Linked DNA regions of Homo sapiens: region 2 is linked to region 1. Evidence: promoter capture Hi-C in 16 types of primary human blood cells and fetal thymus (Javierre and others, 2016). All regions are on one chromosome and are shown on one strand. The core of a region is centred on a gene start or on the middle of the fragment in contact, and the rest is flanking DNA. Distances in the headings are between cores, read along the strand shown.

Region 1 (4,224 bases), core at 1,071-3,570:
ATCTGAAATAGATTAATTTTGAAAGCAAGGTCATTGGTTTTTAAAATAAAATGGTATGTACTTTTTATAAGAACCAAATTAAGCAAATTATATCAGTTTTCCTAATACACTGATCAATATAGTACATGTAATATTCCAACAGTTTGTAAATCTTCAGAACCCTTCAAACCCAAGGATTAGAGCATATAGTTTTGTTGTATTTGCTTTGTTCTTTTACTCTTAACCTGAAAATCAAATTTTCTGGGTTTGGTGATGTAGGGGATAAAAAAAAAAGAAATTAGTTAAGACCAACTAAGCCTATGATCTAAACAATTTGAAGCAATAACTTTACATTTGAGAACTTGTAGATGATATGAAACTTTTGTCAGCTATTAAACATATTTTTTAAAGCCCTGCTGATGAAAGATGTAGCTTCCAATGTTTTCTCCAGTAGAGTTAATGAGCTAGATAGAAAATATCTCATTAATTTCTTGAGTCCCCTTGTGAGGCAAGAAAATGACATTCTTATCCAACAGCTGGAAAAGCTGAAGAATTAGTGGATGTAACTGTGCTCAACTGCAAAGGAAAAAAATAGCTTTACTATACCCTGAGATGTGGATATGAAAGAATATTGCATACACATATACCCTCTCCCTTATTTTTAAGGAATCAATATCTGCTTAAAGAATAAGACTAGTTAAAACCCTTGGATCTTGGCCCTATAACTTTTGGCAGAGTATATTACTGCTTCATGGCCTGGCAGTGCAGTGACTCTTTTAATTTACTTTAAAATAGCTTTTCCCTAATCTGTACAACCTAACATCTGACCAATCATGAATCTTCAGCAAACTTAAGCCTCTTATTCCATACATTTTTTAAAACTGTAAAAATTCAGGAAATAACTCTTTGCAAAGTACATTGAAGCATTTATTGGGAAGCAAAAAAGCACAAGTTGAAGTGATTTGTAGTTTCATAAAAACGAATTTGACATTTTACTTAGAAGTTGCAAACCACCACATGGTTTTGAGTTTTGAATTCATTTGCTTTGCAAAAAGTGGAATGTTTTATTTGAATGGAAATGCCCTCAAGTTACTTCCAGCATGGCTGTAGGATTGATTTTTCTAGGTTAAGGGAATGCCAAAGTTTAGTGCCTTGTGTATATTCTTTTCGAAAAAAACAAACTATTATCCATGTATTTAAATGGACGTAGGAAATTCAAGAACAAATCAGGGAAATTTAACATCATTTCAGTATTACCAACATAGGGCTTTGTGTAACGACTGTGACATCAAGATAAGGCTTTACCTCGGCTCATCCAATAGAAATACAGTATGTAAATTAACCCATATTATCTGTATGCTGATTGGCCTGAGTTCCCCTGAATGTCACAATCTCACCACCCAGCAATGAGGTATTTTACTGCTGTCTCAAGATCAGATTATTACTGTAGAGAAGATTTTTATTTTTTGTTTCATTAACAGATTATTATAAAGCAAAAAGCATGCAGAAAAAGAAGCAGACGTTTTACATTGGGAATTAATGAAAGCGTGTCTGCTAGTTTTGGGTAGGAGAACTGGGAAGTTGTTGCTTAAAATTTTATATCACCTCCACAAACAAAACTCTTCGGAAATGGTAAAATAAGAAAATGCATGATTCTAGAGGCATTCCTAAGCACCCACGTGTCAGGCTTTGTGGTGTCTGTGGTATCATCCGACCGTTTGGACTGGTGTAAGTTTTACGTATTTGTTATATTTCTAGTATTTTTCATCTGTAATAACAAAGGGGAAAAAAGGAAACTCGTACACATAACTGCTTTGACATCACCCATCATTGGTCAGCGGAACTTGTAAGAAGGGAAAAGGAATACTGTTGCTTGGTGGGGTGGAATGCCAGGAATAGCCATTTAAACATTTTATAAGCCTGATTCTTTAGTGACATCCTTTAAGGTAGACTGAATGTAAATCATATTGTAGTTGTCCTCTGAACTTAGCTTTCTCCCTACTTTTACGCATATTTGCGTGCATTGGAGAATAGAAGATGACTAACAAAGAGAGAGCTGCCCTAACGTGCCTTCCCTTCTTCCCCATTGAAAAGATTTTTAACTGTGGGAAAAAGATAAATAAATAAATAAATAACTTTTTTTCTTTTTTCCCATTCTTTTCTTGTCTTTTTCCAGCTAACCTGCAAATTTAAAGGTTAGCTGGAGACATCACTTAAAAATAAATATATAAAAGAAGCCTCCGGTGGTTTGGACCACCCTAAAAGAAAAGGGAAGAAAGTGTCTGGGGAAGGTTAGGGTTCCGGGAAGCTGAGGGAGGGGGCGGGCGTCACGGGCACTGTGACTTCCTCGTGCGCTGCCTTTGGGAAGAGGATGGGCCTGAGGTCCTGAAAGGGCCTTTCCAGCCCCCCACTACAAATGCGGGGAGGGAAAAGTTCAGAAGCAGCCACGAAGGGACAAAAGCTTAATGCTGCCAGTTGGATTGGACAGGGCAGTCAATAAACCCAGCCAGCTCTGGAGTCAGGTAGGGGTTCCTGCTGGTTCCACAGAGGCTGAAGCAGCCCCGCCGCCGCCCTCGCCACCGCAGCCGCCGCCGCCGCGGCCCCTGCGTTACTGGGGGAGACGGTGCCGCTGCGACAGGGGAGGACGCGGCTGGAGCTCAAGGAGGCTCCAGCGCGCAGGCGCCGCCGAGCCCTGCCTGGATGCTCAGTCAAGGCACTAAGGCAAAAAAAAAAAAAAAAAAAACAAAAAACAAAAAAAAAAAAAAAAAAAAGAAAAAGAAAAAAAGAAAAAAATCAGCAATTTATAGAAAGAAGCTATAGTCTGTCGGGATATCCAACACCAACAGGTAGGAGGATATACTCTTGGTTAAGTTTGGGGGATGTGGGGGAATGCACAGTGTTGATGAAACTGCAGGTTCACCGAGAAAGAGCCCTCCCTCAGGTTGTGTGTGTGTGTGTGTGTGTGTGTGTCTCTGTGTGTGTGTGTGTGTGTGTGTGTGTATGTGTTTTGTGACAATAAACTGCATAATGGAAGTACATTCAGACAATGCATCTTCAGTAGGGCTTACTGAGAGCTCCATTTCTGGAAAGCCTTACAAGACTGAGGAATATCAGACTGCGAATCACCGGGAACGGTTCCTTTGCAGCACAGAAGCAATCTCTCTCCCCATCTTCGCGTATGTAATGCATGTCTCTCTCCCTCTCCCCCTCCTCCACCCTCCCCCCATTATAAATCCAGGGGTGGCGGATTTCAGGTTTCGTAATGTTGCATGATGCGATCGGTATTTACCCGAGGATGTACCGGTGGGGAAATTAAAATCATCGAACGCAGTTTTGCCTGGGCTTCCACCAGCATATTCCGGGCCAGTGAGAAGTGGCAAAAGAAACACGCTTGGTGGGAATAACAGAGGAAGCCGATTTCCCTGGTGTGGTCCAGGCACCTGCGAGACAATGTGCATTTTGTTTTAAAAAGCAGCCACTTGTGATTTGCAACAAAGGTTATCAGTGTAAATGGGAAAGGCTTAATTGCCCAAGAAATACAGGTTCATGTTATATTCATTTGAATCCAGGCAGCCAAGGTTTACAAATGGAAGTGCATTATTCCTCTGGGTGTGTTTCCCTGTCCAATATTTACATTAACCATTTTAATAATCATGTGGGCTTAAAAGATTTGCCAGAAATGGGGGGTAGGGTGGAGAGGGAAAGACAAATGATTAAATCACATCAAATCTTGGGACAAGTAAGTTCCTATTAATTTTGAAGTTAATTTTGAAATTTTGCTTTAAGATGAATCAACAAATACTCTTATGCAGCATGAATAGTGGCACTTAAGATATATTTTGCACGGGTTCTTTGGACCCACATCAAACAGAGAAGCTGCCTGTGAAACACTGACAGATACTAATAGATCTCAAATAAATGTAGGTAGTGTCTCTGCCTCCTAATAGCAATCTTGTAGATTCCATTGCAATTCTAGTGGTTAATTCCTGGACTGGCATATTTTACAAGAATGGGACATTTTATTCCTTCTCTCCTAAAGTTACCCTATCAAATGTATATTGTCCAAAATAGGGACATTTTAAAATTCACTTAGCTTGAAAAACTAAACAAGCCAATTCTCTGAAATCTCGAGCAAAAATATTTAGTAAAGCAAATATTAGTATTCAAAATTAAAACTTTATTTGCTTCCCCATAAGTGAACAGCTTTGTTAGCACTGTCTGACATCATTGCTTGTTAACTTAAGA
Region 2 (4,281 bases), core at 159-2,658, 1.3 Mb after region 1:
CATGAATCTTTTTTCAGACTATGTACCCATATCAGCACGCAAACATAGGGCTGCGATTGACACAGAGTCCTTTGTTAAATAGAGCAAACATACAGTCATTTGTAATTGCCCAGTAACTCCATTTTCCCAACATGTTATATTTGGATAATAAAAATGTGTGTGTGTGTGTTCATTCTTGCATGAATAAAAGTAGAAAGGACATTAGGACTGTTTAATAAATATCCGTCTAAAATAATTTCTCTAAGCAAAGAAGTTCATGGGCATAGAAAAGTCTGATCTGGGCTGGGCTCAGTGGCTCACACCTGTAATCCCAGCACTTTGGTTTGAGACCAGCTTGAGCAACATAGGAAGATCTTATCTCTTATTTAAAAAAAAAAAAAAAAAAAAAAAAAAAGATAAGACCGATCTTGCTTAGATGATACTTTAAGTGGACCTTTCATCTGCTCTCTTAAACAGAAAGATATAATACCCTGGAAGGTAAGGCCACCATCTAGGTCACACTGAATCTTAAGGCAGTTTGTTTTAGGATACAAGCCATATAGCTTACTGATTTGGGCTTGTTCTTTATTTTAGCAAGGGTACTTATTGTACAATCACTGATCTTCCTTTAACAATTCTTTCCTTATGTTCCCATTCTGACCAACCACCTACACTAGTAATCAGCCCATCTGTCCCAAAATGTGGTTTGTAATGGTGTCATTTCCATAAAGATGCCAGGTCTTTAAAAACAACTTGTCTTTGACTTGCCTTGTACTCCACTAAAGTAGACTGATTCTCCTTTCCCTTACTAGGCATTCTTTGTCAAAGAATATATCTTAAGTCACCCTGAAGATGGGGAGAAAATTGCACGATTAAGAGAGCTGATGCTTGAGCAGGTAAGGGAAGCAGAAGCCAACCCCCTTCTATTTTGCCTGGATATGTGCTTGCTTACCTAGAGCCCCCTCTGCATGGTTTCCTGCATCAGTGGTCTAACAGAAGCTGGCAAGCAAGGGTGACAGATTCCTGTAATATATCCCAGCTTGCTAATTTCTACTTCTTCTTCCCACTCCGATGCAAAAATTAATTTAACAATGAGTAGACTATGGCAGCCAGTTACAGGTTGAGTATCCTTTATCCAAAATACTTGGGACCATAAGTGTTTCAGATTTTGAAATATTTGCATATACATAAGAGATATCTTGGGGGAGGGACCCAAGTCAAATAACAAAATTTATTATTTCATATATATCTTATACACATAGCCTGAAGGTCATTTTATATAATATTTTAATAATTTTGTGCATGAAGTTTCGACTGCAACCCATCACGTGAGGTTGGGTGTGGAATTTTCCACTTGTGGGATGTTGGCATTCAAAAGGCTTCAAATTTTGGAGGATTTCTGATTTTCAGTTTTTGTATTAGGGATGTTCAACCTGTGAAACAAACAACTTCATGTGGTCTCTTAAAACATTCTTTGAATGTTCTCTTCCTAGAGACTTGCTGTAGGCTTGATGCCAACTTTTTTTTTTTTTTTTTTTTTTTTTTTAAGACGGAGTCTCCCTCTGTCACCCAGGCTGGAGTGCAGTGGCATGATCTCTGCTCACTGCAAGCTCCGCCTCCTGGGTTCACGCCATTCTCCTGCCTCAGCCTCCCAAGTAGCTGGGACCACAAGTGCCCGCCACCACACCTGGCTAATTTTTTTTGCATTTTTAGTAGAGACGGGGTTTCACTGTGTTAGCCAGGATGGTCTCGATCTCCTGACCTTGTGATCCACCCGCCTCAGCCTCCCAAAGTGCTGGGATTACAGGCGTGAGCCACCGCGCCTGGCCGATGCCAACTTTTCACTCAAAATTCTGTGCTCAGAAAAGTTCAGGCCAACTCCAAATATGAGGCATGAATGAAATTTTTACTTAAGCATTGTAATAAGGAAGTGGGCAATCAGTAGATCTTGCTTTAAAGCAGTGTCATATTTTGCAAAGTAAACCTATAGGTTACATGATATGGACAAAACTACATACAACTCATCATTTTCTACCCCCAGAGAAGCGTGGTTTATTTATTTGGAACCATCAAGTACAAAGAACTGGAATGAGTAATCTGTTGCCTACTGTGTCCCTATTGATAGCCTGAAATGGTTTGAAAACCTCTGAGGTAGGAGACATGGTTGGAAGCCTGTGTTAAACAGGAAATAAAGACATTTGCTTCCTGTGAAAAGTGGAATATGTGTGATGAAACATGACAAAGGCATTTCTTTCTACCCAATAATGCCAAATTAATAAGTAAAGCATGCTCTTTGGATTAGAAAATGAGGTCGTGTCTGGTTTTCATCCATCTTTTATGCTCTGTAGGCTTAGTCCACAAAACCTAATACTACAGGGAGAGAGGTGGCCACAGAAGAGAGAGAAGAATTACTTGAAGCTGATCTGTAAGGAAATAAAGAATAAGTCAAGTTCTCAATGTGACTCTGGGTGTTTGTAGATACTAGAAGTGAGCAGTTGAGGTCATCCATTACTTAGGATTATGCAATGACTTTAACCTTCATTGATTTTTAAAGATCTGTGTTTTACCTCTTATGAATGGTTCACTCCACCCCAGGACTGTATCTGCTGGATTCAGCCTGACTGAATTATTTCCCCAGAATTAAATGGTAGCTCAGGGTCAAGAAGACTGCCAAGAAAAATAAAACCAGGGAACCTTTATTTCTTCTACGTCCTGCTTATGTTCCTGAAACCTTGTGGAAAGAGCCATGGCCTAGAAAATGTGAGATCTCTGTTATAAGACAAGCAGTGCACGTGACTGTCAATGTGCCCTTGGCCAAGTCTCATCATCTCTGTGGGGAGGTGGACTGGAGAGGGCACCATCCTTCTCTGGACCTCTGCAAAGTAGTTCAGATAAACTCTCTAGAGGACAGAGACATGCACCACCCCAGTGCTCCTTCCAGGACAGACTTACTCTGCCTCAGCTGCAGGAAATGTGGCTCTCAACAGACATCTCCAGCTGTCAGGCCCTTCAGGGATTGCCTCCACTGCAGAGAGCCACTTGGCCCAAGGTTGCTACCTTCTCAGTGGTGCACATCCCATACTGAGGAAGCAATAGAAAGCCTGGCCATTTGGGACCAACACAGGACAACTTTGACAGACCATTAAAGGTCCAGAGGTTGAGGTAGGAGTATCATCTGACACCAGGAGTTCAAGACTAGCCTGGGCAACATAGCAAGACCCCATCTCTACAAAAACCTAAAAACTAGCTGGGTGTGGTGGTGCATGCCTGTAGGCCCAGCTACTTGGGAGGCTGAGGTGGGAGGATCACCTTAGCCCAGGAGTTCGAGGTTGCAGTGAGCTATGATCACACCACTGCATTCCTTCCTGGGCAGCAGAGTGAGACTCTGTCTCTAAAAAGATTAAAATACAGATAAATTTTTAAGAACATTCCAGAGGTCCCTTGGGTTTGGCAGTAGCTGACAGGACTGCTGTGCAGCTCAACTTCTTTTCTTGTCAAGTCCGGCTTCTGTCCCTCCCCCTGACAGGCATCAATCCCAAGGTACACCCTGATAAACATTATGAAATCCATGCTGGAGTCTACTTCCCAGAGAACCCAACTTGCAACATTCTGTGAACAAAAGGGAAGTCACCCAACGCTAGTGTTTAAAATGGAGAAGACTGGGGGCCTCTGCGTTTAGATCCACCTCCTACATCCCTTCCATGTCCTCATCACAGATGTAGCCTCTCCCTTTATGCCTCATACACACTGCACTCCAAGTGTGCCTTTCAAAGGCATCCTTGATATTTGTTATGCAAATATGCTGGCAGTGGGCAGCATCCAGAGCCCCGTCCCTTAGGGAAGGTGCTGGATGCCCCAACCCGCCAGGGTCAGTCCTGTTTGACCTGAGCTTTCAACCTAAAATCTTCACGAGCTGCAAAGATTAAAAATAGCAACAATAACAACAAAACCTTGTGGTGATATAGGATTCGTTTTCCTCCCAGTCTATGGAATTTGTCCTTTTGACCATGTTAGCATGGGGGGCATTTTTAAAATACAAAAGACAGCTGCTGCTCGAATCAAAGGAATCACACACTGTTGATGGTTGCACAAAGGAAGGTTGAATGTTTACCTTCATCTCTTCGGATCCTCACTGCAGGAAAGTTTTTTAAGTAGGACCTGCTCTCTCGTTGAATTATAAGTGAATATGAATAATGTTTTTTGGGATTTTTTTCTTTTTTCTTTTTTTTTTCTTTTTGGAGACAGAGTCTAGCTCTGTCACCTAGGCTGAAATGCAGTGGCATGATCTTGGCTCACTACAAC

What was found. The method cuts DNA at HindIII sites, captures the fragments that hold promoters and counts their contacts. A CHiCAGO score of 5 or more calls a contact.
Region 2: a contact is called between a fragment that was not itself captured here and the fragment with the promoter of GPR85 in region 1, in 1 of 17 cell types (neutrophils). The highest score is 5.3, in neutrophils.

What each region holds. Positions count from the first base shown.
Region 1 is chr7:113,084,923-113,089,146 of GRCh38, reverse strand. It overlaps GPR85 (G protein-coupled receptor 85), which reads left to right and starts at 2,320. Exons shown (of 3, transcript NM_001146267.2): 1 at 2,320-2,825; 2 at 3,038-3,155. RefSeq lists a silencer at 2,575-2,634. The HindIII fragment of the contact is 6,967 bases long and covers 1-2,442 here.
Region 2 is chr7:111,742,928-111,747,208 of GRCh38, reverse strand. It overlaps DOCK4 (dedicator of cytokinesis 4), which reads left to right. Exons shown (of 53, transcript NM_001363540.2): 44 at 792-875. Among named protein-coding and RNA genes, the nearest start is that of DOCK4-AS1, 63 kb to the left of the region's middle. RefSeq lists an enhancer at 3,689-4,281. The HindIII fragment of the contact is 9,288 bases long and covers 1-4,281 here.